Regions from separate parts of the Homo sapiens genome. Here regions 1 and 3 are each linked to region 2. The links are contacts of gene promoters, found by promoter capture Hi-C in blood cells and fetal thymus (Javierre and others, 2016). All regions are on one chromosome and are shown on one strand. Each heading gives the region's core, a stretch centred on a gene start or on the middle of the fragment in contact. The rest is flanking DNA. Distances are from core to core; before and after follow the strand shown.

Region 1 (3,219 bases), core at 324-2,823, 1.2 Mb before region 2:
CTAAAACATGGATGTCATGCAGCGCTAGTTCTTAAAATAAAAACAAAAGAAATAAATTGAAGTTTATTTTTGATAGGGAGCCTTAGTGCAATAAGACACGTTTCCTGGCCTGCCGCTATATTCTGGCTTCACAGGGCTCATTACAGACCTTAGCAGAATCTACTAACTCCTTCTCCTAGGTATTACCTGCTATTCAGCTCAGAGTCTTAAGAGTTGATTTGATTATAGATATATATATACACACCCAGAGGCTTTAGTGCTAGGACCATTTTGAAGTATTTCTTCTAATATCTGCATTTCCAAAAAGGAATCCCAGTGACTCCTGGACTAACTCAAAGTGATGCCCTGCTAATGGCGGTATTTAAGGCTGTGGACTGGTCCAGTGGAAAAGGCTCCCCTAGAATTATACCAGAACAGACCCCTAGACAACTTCCTGCTTCACCCATGTGCCTAGCATATAGAAGCATTCAATAAATGTTTCTTGAACTTAGCAGCCAAAACCACACACTAAAGAGAACTTTTACACATGCTTAGCATGGGAGGGCTGACTGAGTATGTGGCATTTTATCAGCCAAACTCAGCACTTTGGAAGGAGTCATGCCTCTGAATCACCCAGAATTTGAATTAGAGAAAGAGCGCATTCCTTTGATGTTTAGACAACACTGTACATGGCTTATATTCACTGATGAAAACACAGTAGTCTAGAAACAGCTTTACTGTGCATGTATACACTGTCTGGCTGGTTTTCCTTGTCTTCATAAATATTAAATGTGACTAATTAAAATTATTGAAGTTCTGGTGTAGGTATGCAGAGAGGTTTGGGTAGTGTCAAATTCTGCCTCTGTGGTTTCTTAGCCAAATGACCTTGGGCTTATCTTTGTGACTCAGTTTCTCATTTAAAATTATGAATCTATTAATACAACTTTCAAAAGACTATTGCAGGACCCAAGAATGAATACACTTAGGGTCCTTTTGTAAATTTGTTGAGTACCACATAAATGTAAAATATTAATATATGCAAGGGAAATATTCTAATTTCCTGTAGAAAGTTCTGCAAAAATGGGTTAAAAGAGGTGACTGCTGCAGTAATTTTGAATTTTGAATTTAGATATGTCCTGGGGATCTTCTTTGTACCGTGTAGCCTCTGGCTTAGGCTGTTTGATTGTTTTTCTTTCGTTTTTCACAGAGTTCTTGGCCCATCCCACCAATCTAGCACATGAGCTTAATTCGGTTTTGCTCCATGCATCAGAGAGTTTTAAGACAGCTATTAAAACACCACATGGAAAAGCTTTGCAGGGAATTCTACTCCACAGAGAAACCACAGAGCCACTACACACCTTAACTATCTCCCCACCCCCAACAGTGGGCTGAAATTACGGCTCCATTATGTTAGTACAATCCAACCAGTTTTATGGCTTGGAGCAAAATCTGAGGTTCAAAATGAACTTCAGAACATAAAAAGTAAGGCAAACCTCAAAAGGAAACGAGCTTCTTTGGGTTTTGAAACAAATATTACATATCAGAGACATTCTTCTAACAGAGGAGACCAAGAAAAGCCAAGAGGAGTCCTGCTAATTGCTCCAGAAATGTAAAACTGGAATCAGAGACTCACCCGCCCTAAAAGGAGATCTCTTTTCATCATCATATATTAAAAGCTACAACCTTTCATCAACTCCTTCCTCAAGCACGAGACCTTCTTTGACCTTGATTGAGTTCCTTCAATGTTGCATCACTATCTTCCACATTAAAAAATAAGATATATTTTTAAGACTTAATGTTAGCTCATTACTTACTCTACTGCAGCCCTTTTGCTTTGTTTTTCTATCTTCCTTCCTGTATTGTAAATGTCATTTATACATTAAGCTTTGTGTATGTTTCATGGATTTGTTGTGCCTTGGCACTAGGGCTACCCAGAAGAAACAAAATAACCGACCAATACTCATTCTCATGAGCCATCCATGCTGTTGCTTGGTTAATTCAATCTCATGGACAACTTATTTTCTTACAGTGAATACAAGCGTCTTCATTTATCCCTTGTTTACTACAAAGCCATGGATATAATTTAATTTCTACATCCATCTTGAGTGGGGCATATCCAGGGCTACTTCTACAAACACAAGATTGCCCTGATTACACTAACTCTATCTTATTCTTCCCCAAATTCAATAAAATGTCCAAGCAATGGGAATATTTTGGCAGCCCAATTACATATCTCATAATATCCCTAATATCTGAAAGCAGGATGTGTCTGACCATGTGTTCTGATTTTTAGGTCTACAAATATGGTCTTCAAATGATAGGGTGAGAAAGAAGAGTTAAAGAAAGAGGATCCAGGGAGCAGTGCCAGATCTTCTAGGGAGCTGAGTTTGTATTATGCTAGCAGGGAATGATGGGAATTTCTCCAATAACTCCCTAGGGGTGTGTCAGAAAAACTATGAGACTGTAACTTGAGCAAGAATAGTGTCAGGGAATCTGTGCCCTACCTCAATTCAACAAAAATGAGTAGTCGTGCAGCTCAACAAGCATTTATTACATTAGTATGACTAAATGTATATGATGTAACAAACTAAGGGATACACAAAATGACTAAGATGGGAGTGTGAAAATGAGCAAACAATGCTTGTATCATGAAATAAATTTCTAGAGACTATTTCTTGTAAAGGCTATTTAACATCAGTGGCCCTGACTGGGTTTTACTGAGGGAATTAGTGTCCAGAGCTGGAGCTGTGCAGTAATCCTGACTTCTCCAGCTGCTCAGGACATAGCAATTGTGCTAGGAAAGTAAAAGGCAGTGGAGACCTGTCATAGGGTAAGGAAAATGAGGTCAGACCTTAAACAGACAAGTGGAGGGTAAAAGTATTAATCAAGATCAATCAATCCTAGTGGGAGGGAAGATAAAATTGTGGAGGGTGGAGGTGTCTGAAGTAGTTCCTGAGATCTTTCTTCTGAGAATGCTTGTAACTTTCTTTAGAGTTTCATGCAATTATCATTTTTTTTAATAGGGAAGGTTTTTTTTCTTCTTTTTTTTAGACGTAGTCTCGCTCTGTCGCCCAGGCTGGAGTGCTGTGGCAGGATCTCGGCACACTGCAAGCTCCGCCTCCCGGGTTTACGCCATTCTCCTGCCTCAGCCTCCTGAGTAGCTGGGACTACAGGCGCCCGCCCCCACCTGGCTAATTTTTTGTATTTTTAGTAGAGACAGGGTTTCACCGTGTTAGCCAG
Region 2 (3,185 bases), core at 302-2,801:
TCAGATTTAAAAGGTCTCCAAGAAGGTCATTATTTCAAACTTGAGAATCTCTCATGAGAAGCTCTACTGTTCTTTCTATCTACTGCCAGCATCTTTTAAGTATTAACTCACTTACTTCTCATTACAGTGTGGGAGGTATTATGAGGAAACTGAGGCACAGAGAATTTAAGTAACATGTGGATGTTAGTGAGTGAGTGGCTGCAGTTTGGAGCTTGAGCACCATGTTCCAGTGTGTGCTCATCACCAGGCTTCCTTCTGGAAGGGAGAGACAGAGTCGGAGTCTGGAAAACAGCAAGGGAGGGTCTGGATCAGGGGACTGTGAGCAGGCCAGGTGTTGTGAGAGCTGACCGAGGACATGGCCTAGAGGCTGATTATGGAGATTGTGAAAATTGCTATGGAAAAGAAATTTCCAGAACCCAGATTTTGGCTACTTTTGAAAGCATTTTTGAGGTAATACTGTCCTCTAGTGGCTAGATAGCAGGTAGGGATTACCCTCCAAATAAATAGCCAATGAGCCTTGAGTGGAGATGGTATGACAAGTCAGTGGTAAATTCATCATTTTGCTCTCTAACTACAGGTTCTAAAGGAAAGGCAAACCCCACTGCTATGGTCATCGGTACAGCTCAGGATTTCGGCCTCCTCTGCTCCGTGTGTTGGCTACAGGCTAGGTTCAAATCCCAATTCTGCTCTTTACTGCTGAAAGGCTTTGGGCATGTTCGTTAATCTCATTTTCTCTTCTGAAAAAGAGACAATCTTGAAAAGATTGACCTTCCGTGAAGATCAAATGAAGTAATGCGTGTAGTGTGTCTGGCACGTCGTAAGCGCATCACACACGTGAGCTGTGGCAATACTAAGGAGCAGTGGCAAGAGCTGGGGGAGGAGTGGAGACGAACAGACCTGGACAAATTAGTGACCTTTCTGGGACCCCTACAGAACTCTTCTGGAGAAATTAATTCTATTTTTCCATGTACTTTTAAGTTTGCTTTTCCTAGCATTTCTTCTACATTCCTGAATAATTTTCCACTCAAAAATTTCACTGGTTCTCCCTGACTCCCATATTAATCTAGACATAATTACTTCCCCAGAACAGTTCTGTGGGCAGGGAGGGCTCTACACTATGCACCCTCCAAAATCCCCAAAGCTCGGACCGTCCTGGCCTGGGTCCCCACTGCTGTCCTGCCCATGGGCTCCCAGGCTGTGCTTGCTCTTCTCCCACCCCAACCCCATCACCACAAAAAGCCCCTCCTCCAACCCGGGGACTTTTGTAATTTCCTACCTGAAATCATCCACTCCCTACCTCTAACAATCTGTGATGAGCAGAGGACAACATCAAGTTTGAATTTAGAGGTAGGGAATGGGTGATTTCAGGTAGGAAATTACAACTTCACTTTGAAGTTTAATTTTGTAATAAACTTCACTTAATTTTGAAGTAAATTTGCAAAGTCAGCAAAATTCTTTCAAAGTCAACCTTGCTCTGGCCTAGTTGCTTATTTACTGCTAAGCTGGATGTTTTCATTAAAAGATTAACTTTGAGACTTCAGCCTCTTCTTTAGCCTGAACTGTGGGTAGTGATGTGGTGTGTTTCCTAACACCTCCGGCAGTGAGCCAGGCTTTGAGTGGCTGCGTCTAAACACTTCTTTCCCTGAGGACTGGAAGACATTAGAATAAGGTTTGTCATTGAGTGTGTTCTGTGTGCTTGGAACTGAGAAGGGTGATGAAGTGCCAGATAGGATGGGAATGGAAGATATCGTGGAAGCCAACTATGAGTTTGCAAGGCAAGGACCTTGGCAAAGATGGTCCTAGGGAGACAGGTGTTAGGGAACTCAGAGGGCATGGGCAAAGGAAGATTTGGTTTCAAAAAGGATACAGACAGAGAAGGTTAAGTCTAGGAAGTTGAGTCTTAGAATTGTATGGTGGAATATTCGTGGGTGTCCATAGGAGGAAAAATGGGTTAAAATGTTTTCACTTGACAGCGTTCTGAAAACCTAAAAGGTATTGCTATTGCCTTCAGGGATATATTTAGTATTCTGACCACTGCTTCCCGGCCACAAGCAAAAGAAAACAGTGACATGGCTATGCTCCTAAAAAAGTAAAGAAGTTAATGTGTCTCAAACAATGTAGTTCCTTTGAGCAATAAGCTTATTTGGAACAAATGGGTTACAAAGTCCCACTAATGAAGAGCCTCTGATTGTGTTAAGTTGAATCTACAGATCAACCTGCGGAGAACTGCCAAGAACGCTAATGAAGACAGGGAGGTACTGGTATAAAGATAGATAACAGATCAATGGAACAGAATAAAGCGTCCATTAGCAGGAAGCAAAATCCGCAAACTTTTATTCTTAACTACTACTATATTCTGCATTTTACAAGATCCTTCAATTCTCACAAGATCCCTATGAGATAGACAGTAATAACCTAATTTAAAGATAGATGAGAATTGGAGCTTGTCTAGAATAGATTGAGTGGAACATCACTTGTGGTATATCATTTGAGAGGTAATGGGAATATTGCCAAATTCCCAGGTAACTCTCCCCTCAAAGGGACTCCTGTTGTACTCTAAATCGTATCAGCTATCAAATGATGAGCTATGAAAGTCTGTCTTCTTCGACTGTAAGCTTCTTGAGAGCAGAAACTGATGTGATAAAGGTCCCCCCCCATATCTCTAGTGTTTAGCATAATACTTTGATATATTATGTTAAATCAGGCTATGTTATAGTAAAGAATAAACCTTAACAACTTAGTGAGATAACACATAAATATTTATTTCTTCCTTACACAATATCAGCTGATCTCCAGGGCTACCCTTTTCCAAATGGCGTTTTGGGAATCCAAGTGGCCTTTCTCTTACAGCTTTGCCTTCTTGAGGATGGAGGATCGCTGTAGAGGAGGAAACAAAGCTGGAGGGTCACATACCAGCTCTTCAATCCTTGGCCTAGAATTCACACCTGCTATTCCCACTCCCAGGCCATTGGCCAGAAGAACTAGTCACAGAGCCATGCCTGTATTTAAGCAACAGCGAAATGTTAAGCATGTGGGGAGCAGTATATGCCTCCGCCACCCTGGCTGAGAGTGTGTGTCAATAAACCTTCTTGGATAAACTAATGAGTAAATCTGACAGAGGGTTTAAATTATACTATGACAGAAATACTCAAATCCTGAAGCAGCTTTCCACTTCCAGAGCCTCA
Region 3 (3,113 bases), core at 130-2,629, 1.2 Mb before region 2:
AAAATCAAGTTACACAATTTGCCAATAATCCACATTTTAAAACTTTTATGATTATTTTTGAATAACTGTATGCACTTCACCTGAGCCGGCTGTCTTAATCCTTTAGAGTGTGGCTATTTTCCACTATTATACTTTTGGGTAATAACCATTGCCAATTTTATCCCACTAAGTAAATTCCTCATTTTATGGAAATTGTTTTTATAAAGCTTAAGTTACTCACATTTATACCCATAATCTCTTCTCCCTCCCTGTTCAGTCTGGTAGTCGTTTGAAACCCTATTAAGCTATTTGTTATCACAGTTTCTAAAACTCCTCCTGATATTAGCTGTTCAACTTGTCATATACTCCTTCTTCAACACAGGAGGCTAATTAAAAATTGGAGAATCCAATCACAGGGCTGAGAGGCACTTTCACAGGGCATCTTGTGCTAAGAGAACAACATTCTTTCTCCTGGGTTCAATTCCCTTCACCGCTCCTTGTAGGCTGTTTGATGACCTTGAGCAAATTATTTAACCCCTCTTTGCTTCACTTTTTTGTTTTGTTTTTAAAAATGAAATGGGAATAATTATGTTTGCATTGTAGGACTGTTGTGAAGGTGAAAGTCGTAGCTATCAATGATTAGAACAGTTCATAGCACATACTATGCCCTTGATAAATGTTAGCTAATATTTTAAACATTAATGTTTTATTTTAGAATAGTTGTAGTTTTACAGTAAAGTTTCAAAGATAGTGCAGAGGGTTTGCATGTATCCGCATCCAGTTTCCCCTATTGGTAACATCTTAAATTAAGTATGGTATATTTGTTGCAACAATGAACTAATATTAATATGCTAACGAATAGTTTTAACCCAATGTCCTTTTTCTGTTCCAGGAGCCCACCCAGGATACTACATTACATTCAGATGTCATGTCTCCTTAGGCTCCTGCAGACTGACAATTTCTCAAACTTTGTTTTTGATGACTTTGACAATTTTGAGGTGGTATGATAATTTGTGAAGTGTTTCTCATGCTTAGCCTGGAGTTACAAGGTTGGAGAAAAAGACCAAAGATGTGAAGTGCCATTCTCATCACATCATGTCAAGGGTACATGCTGTTAACATGAATTAACATCGATGATGTTAACCTTGATGTCCTGGCTGAGGTAGTTTATTAGGCTTTTTCTCTACAAAGTTACTCCCCTCCCCGTACCTTTCCTTACTGTGTTTTTGGGAAGGAAGTCACTACGTGCAGCTCACCCTTAAAGTATGGGAAGTTACACTCCAACATGCTTTAGGGGGGTAGTATCTATTCCTACATAAATAACTTGAAATTTTTCTGTATGGGAAATTTTCTACCTCATTAATTTATTTATTCAGTCATTTGCTTACCTCAGTAATGACTCATGAATGTTTATCCTTTGGGTTGTATTCCCAATGTACTATAATATTTATTTACTTTATTGTTCAGTCAGTTGCCCTAGCTTTGATATTTGCGAGGTCTTTTAATTGGCTCTGCGTCTCCTTAATATACCCCTTTATTGGATTTTTTTTCTTTATTTTCTGGCACTACAGATGCTTCAGCCTCATTCATCTTGCATATTACCTGACCCTGTCCTAGAAGCAGCCAGTTTTCCAAGGAGCCCTGGTTCTCTTTCCTGGAGAATGGTTGAACATGCTGATTGCTACTGGAGTATCTTTTGTTTCTAGGCCCTCTCAGTGGACTGATTTAAGAAATAACCCATGTATACACACACATATATATATATACACAAAATTACTTCTTTATCTATTTCTGTCTATATTAAGGTAAACACGAGTTCACACTGATATTTCCCACTCTAATCCAGTACCACATGTTTCCTTCTAGCCTGCTAATATTTTATTAGCTATTCATTCATTCACTTATTGATTCATTGAACAAATTTTGTTGAGTGTCTATTATATGCCAGGCCCTGTGCTCAGCACTGAGGATTAGAGAGTCTGGCGGATACTATCCCTACTCTCATGTAGCTTAGAATCCAGTTTACATGTTACATTTTTACTTTAGTTCTTTGGTACTACCAAGGAATGACATCAATCACAACAGCCTATTTCCATATCTCTCTGCATTTTCCCACCATAGTCCATTCTCCCACTTCCAAGATGGCACTACTTTCTATTAATCATTCGTTTTCCTCTCTACCCTCATTTCTCCTCTGTCAGCTCTTTGCCCTGTGGGGTTTTCACCTTTCGTTAAAACACTCCAGCAGAAGAGTGGCTTAGTGCTAAATAAGAGTAGTGTTAGTGTACCTCCCAGTTGTGTTGCACATTTGAAAGGTCTTTCACATCTCATTTTTGAGTATAGGATTATGTAAAGAATCATACGGTATTACCAAGGTGCTTTGTTTAGGGTGGCATCTTATGATTGCCACTCACATGTAAATTCATATGGGATTTGTTATCACCTACTGCTATCTCGAATTGGAGGACCTGTGTTATTCTCTTATGAAGACAATCTCTATTGATGCAAAACTGTAAAGTACCTCTGATTTTAATGCTTCTCTTTTCTGTTTACTGAAAAGATTTTCATGCTTTTAAAGCTTTAATGATTTTAATACTTTTCTTTGCTGTTCATTGAAAATCTATCATTATATCTCTTTCACTCTGAAGGTCATTATATTTGCCTTCTTTTTTCTTGAGTAAATGTTCTAGAAATTTGTCAATGTTACTAGTCTTTCAAATAACAACTTTGGGCTTGTTTGATCCTCTCTATTGCGTGTTTGTTTTCTGTTTCATTATGTTTTGCCCTTTTTAATTTCCTTACTTTTATTTTCTATATTCTGTTCTCAAATTTATAAAGTTGAACGCTTAGCACATTAATTTTAGCCTTTTAAATTTGGTAATATAATCATTTAAGCCCTCATGTTTCCCTCTAATTGCTACTTTGGCTTCATATCACAAGCATTAATATATAGAGGATTTATTATTATTTAGTGCTTTACAATTTCTAATTTTCATTGTAATTTATTTTTTGACCCATGAATTATTAGCATTTTGATTTTGTTTTCAAATGTGGGTGAGTTTCCCCCAGTTATCTATTTAATTTTGATTTCTATTTAATTGTGTTATGAATAGTTTTTTTAAAATGATGTTCTT

What was found. The method cuts DNA at HindIII sites, captures the fragments that hold promoters and counts their contacts. A CHiCAGO score of 5 or more calls a contact.
Region 1: a contact is called between a fragment that was not itself captured here and the fragment with the promoter of HAO2 in region 2, in 5 of 17 cell types (endothelial precursors, M2 macrophages, megakaryocytes and 2 more). The highest score is 17.6, in endothelial precursors.
Region 3: a fragment that was not itself captured here is called in contact with the fragment with the promoter of HAO2 in region 2 in 1 of 17 cell types (endothelial precursors); the score reaches 6.6 in endothelial precursors.

What each region holds. Positions count from the first base shown.
Region 1 is chr1:118,158,529-118,161,747 of GRCh38, forward strand. The region is part of intron 1 of SPAG17 (sperm associated antigen 17); the gene reads right to left. Among named protein-coding and RNA genes, the nearest start is that of SPAG17, 25 kb to the right of the region's middle. The HindIII fragment of the contact is 575 bases long and covers 1,287-1,861 here.
Region 2 is chr1:119,367,234-119,370,418 of GRCh38, forward strand. It overlaps HAO2 (hydroxyacid oxidase 2), which reads left to right and starts at 1,552. Exons shown (of 8, transcript NM_016527.4): 1 at 1,552-1,669. HAO2-IT1 (HAO2 intronic transcript 1) reads left to right here and starts at 1,713. Exons shown (of 2, transcript NR_046780.1): 1 at 1,713-1,775; 2 at 2,851-3,098. The HindIII fragment of the contact is 4,151 bases long and covers 1-2,136 here.
Region 3 is chr1:118,195,256-118,198,368 of GRCh38, forward strand. LOC105378930 (a long non-coding RNA gene) reads left to right here. Exons shown (of 4, transcript XR_947746.3): 3 at 872-1,141. Among named protein-coding and RNA genes, the nearest start is that of SPAG17, 12 kb to the left of the region's middle. The HindIII fragment of the contact is 2,351 bases long and covers 205-2,555 here.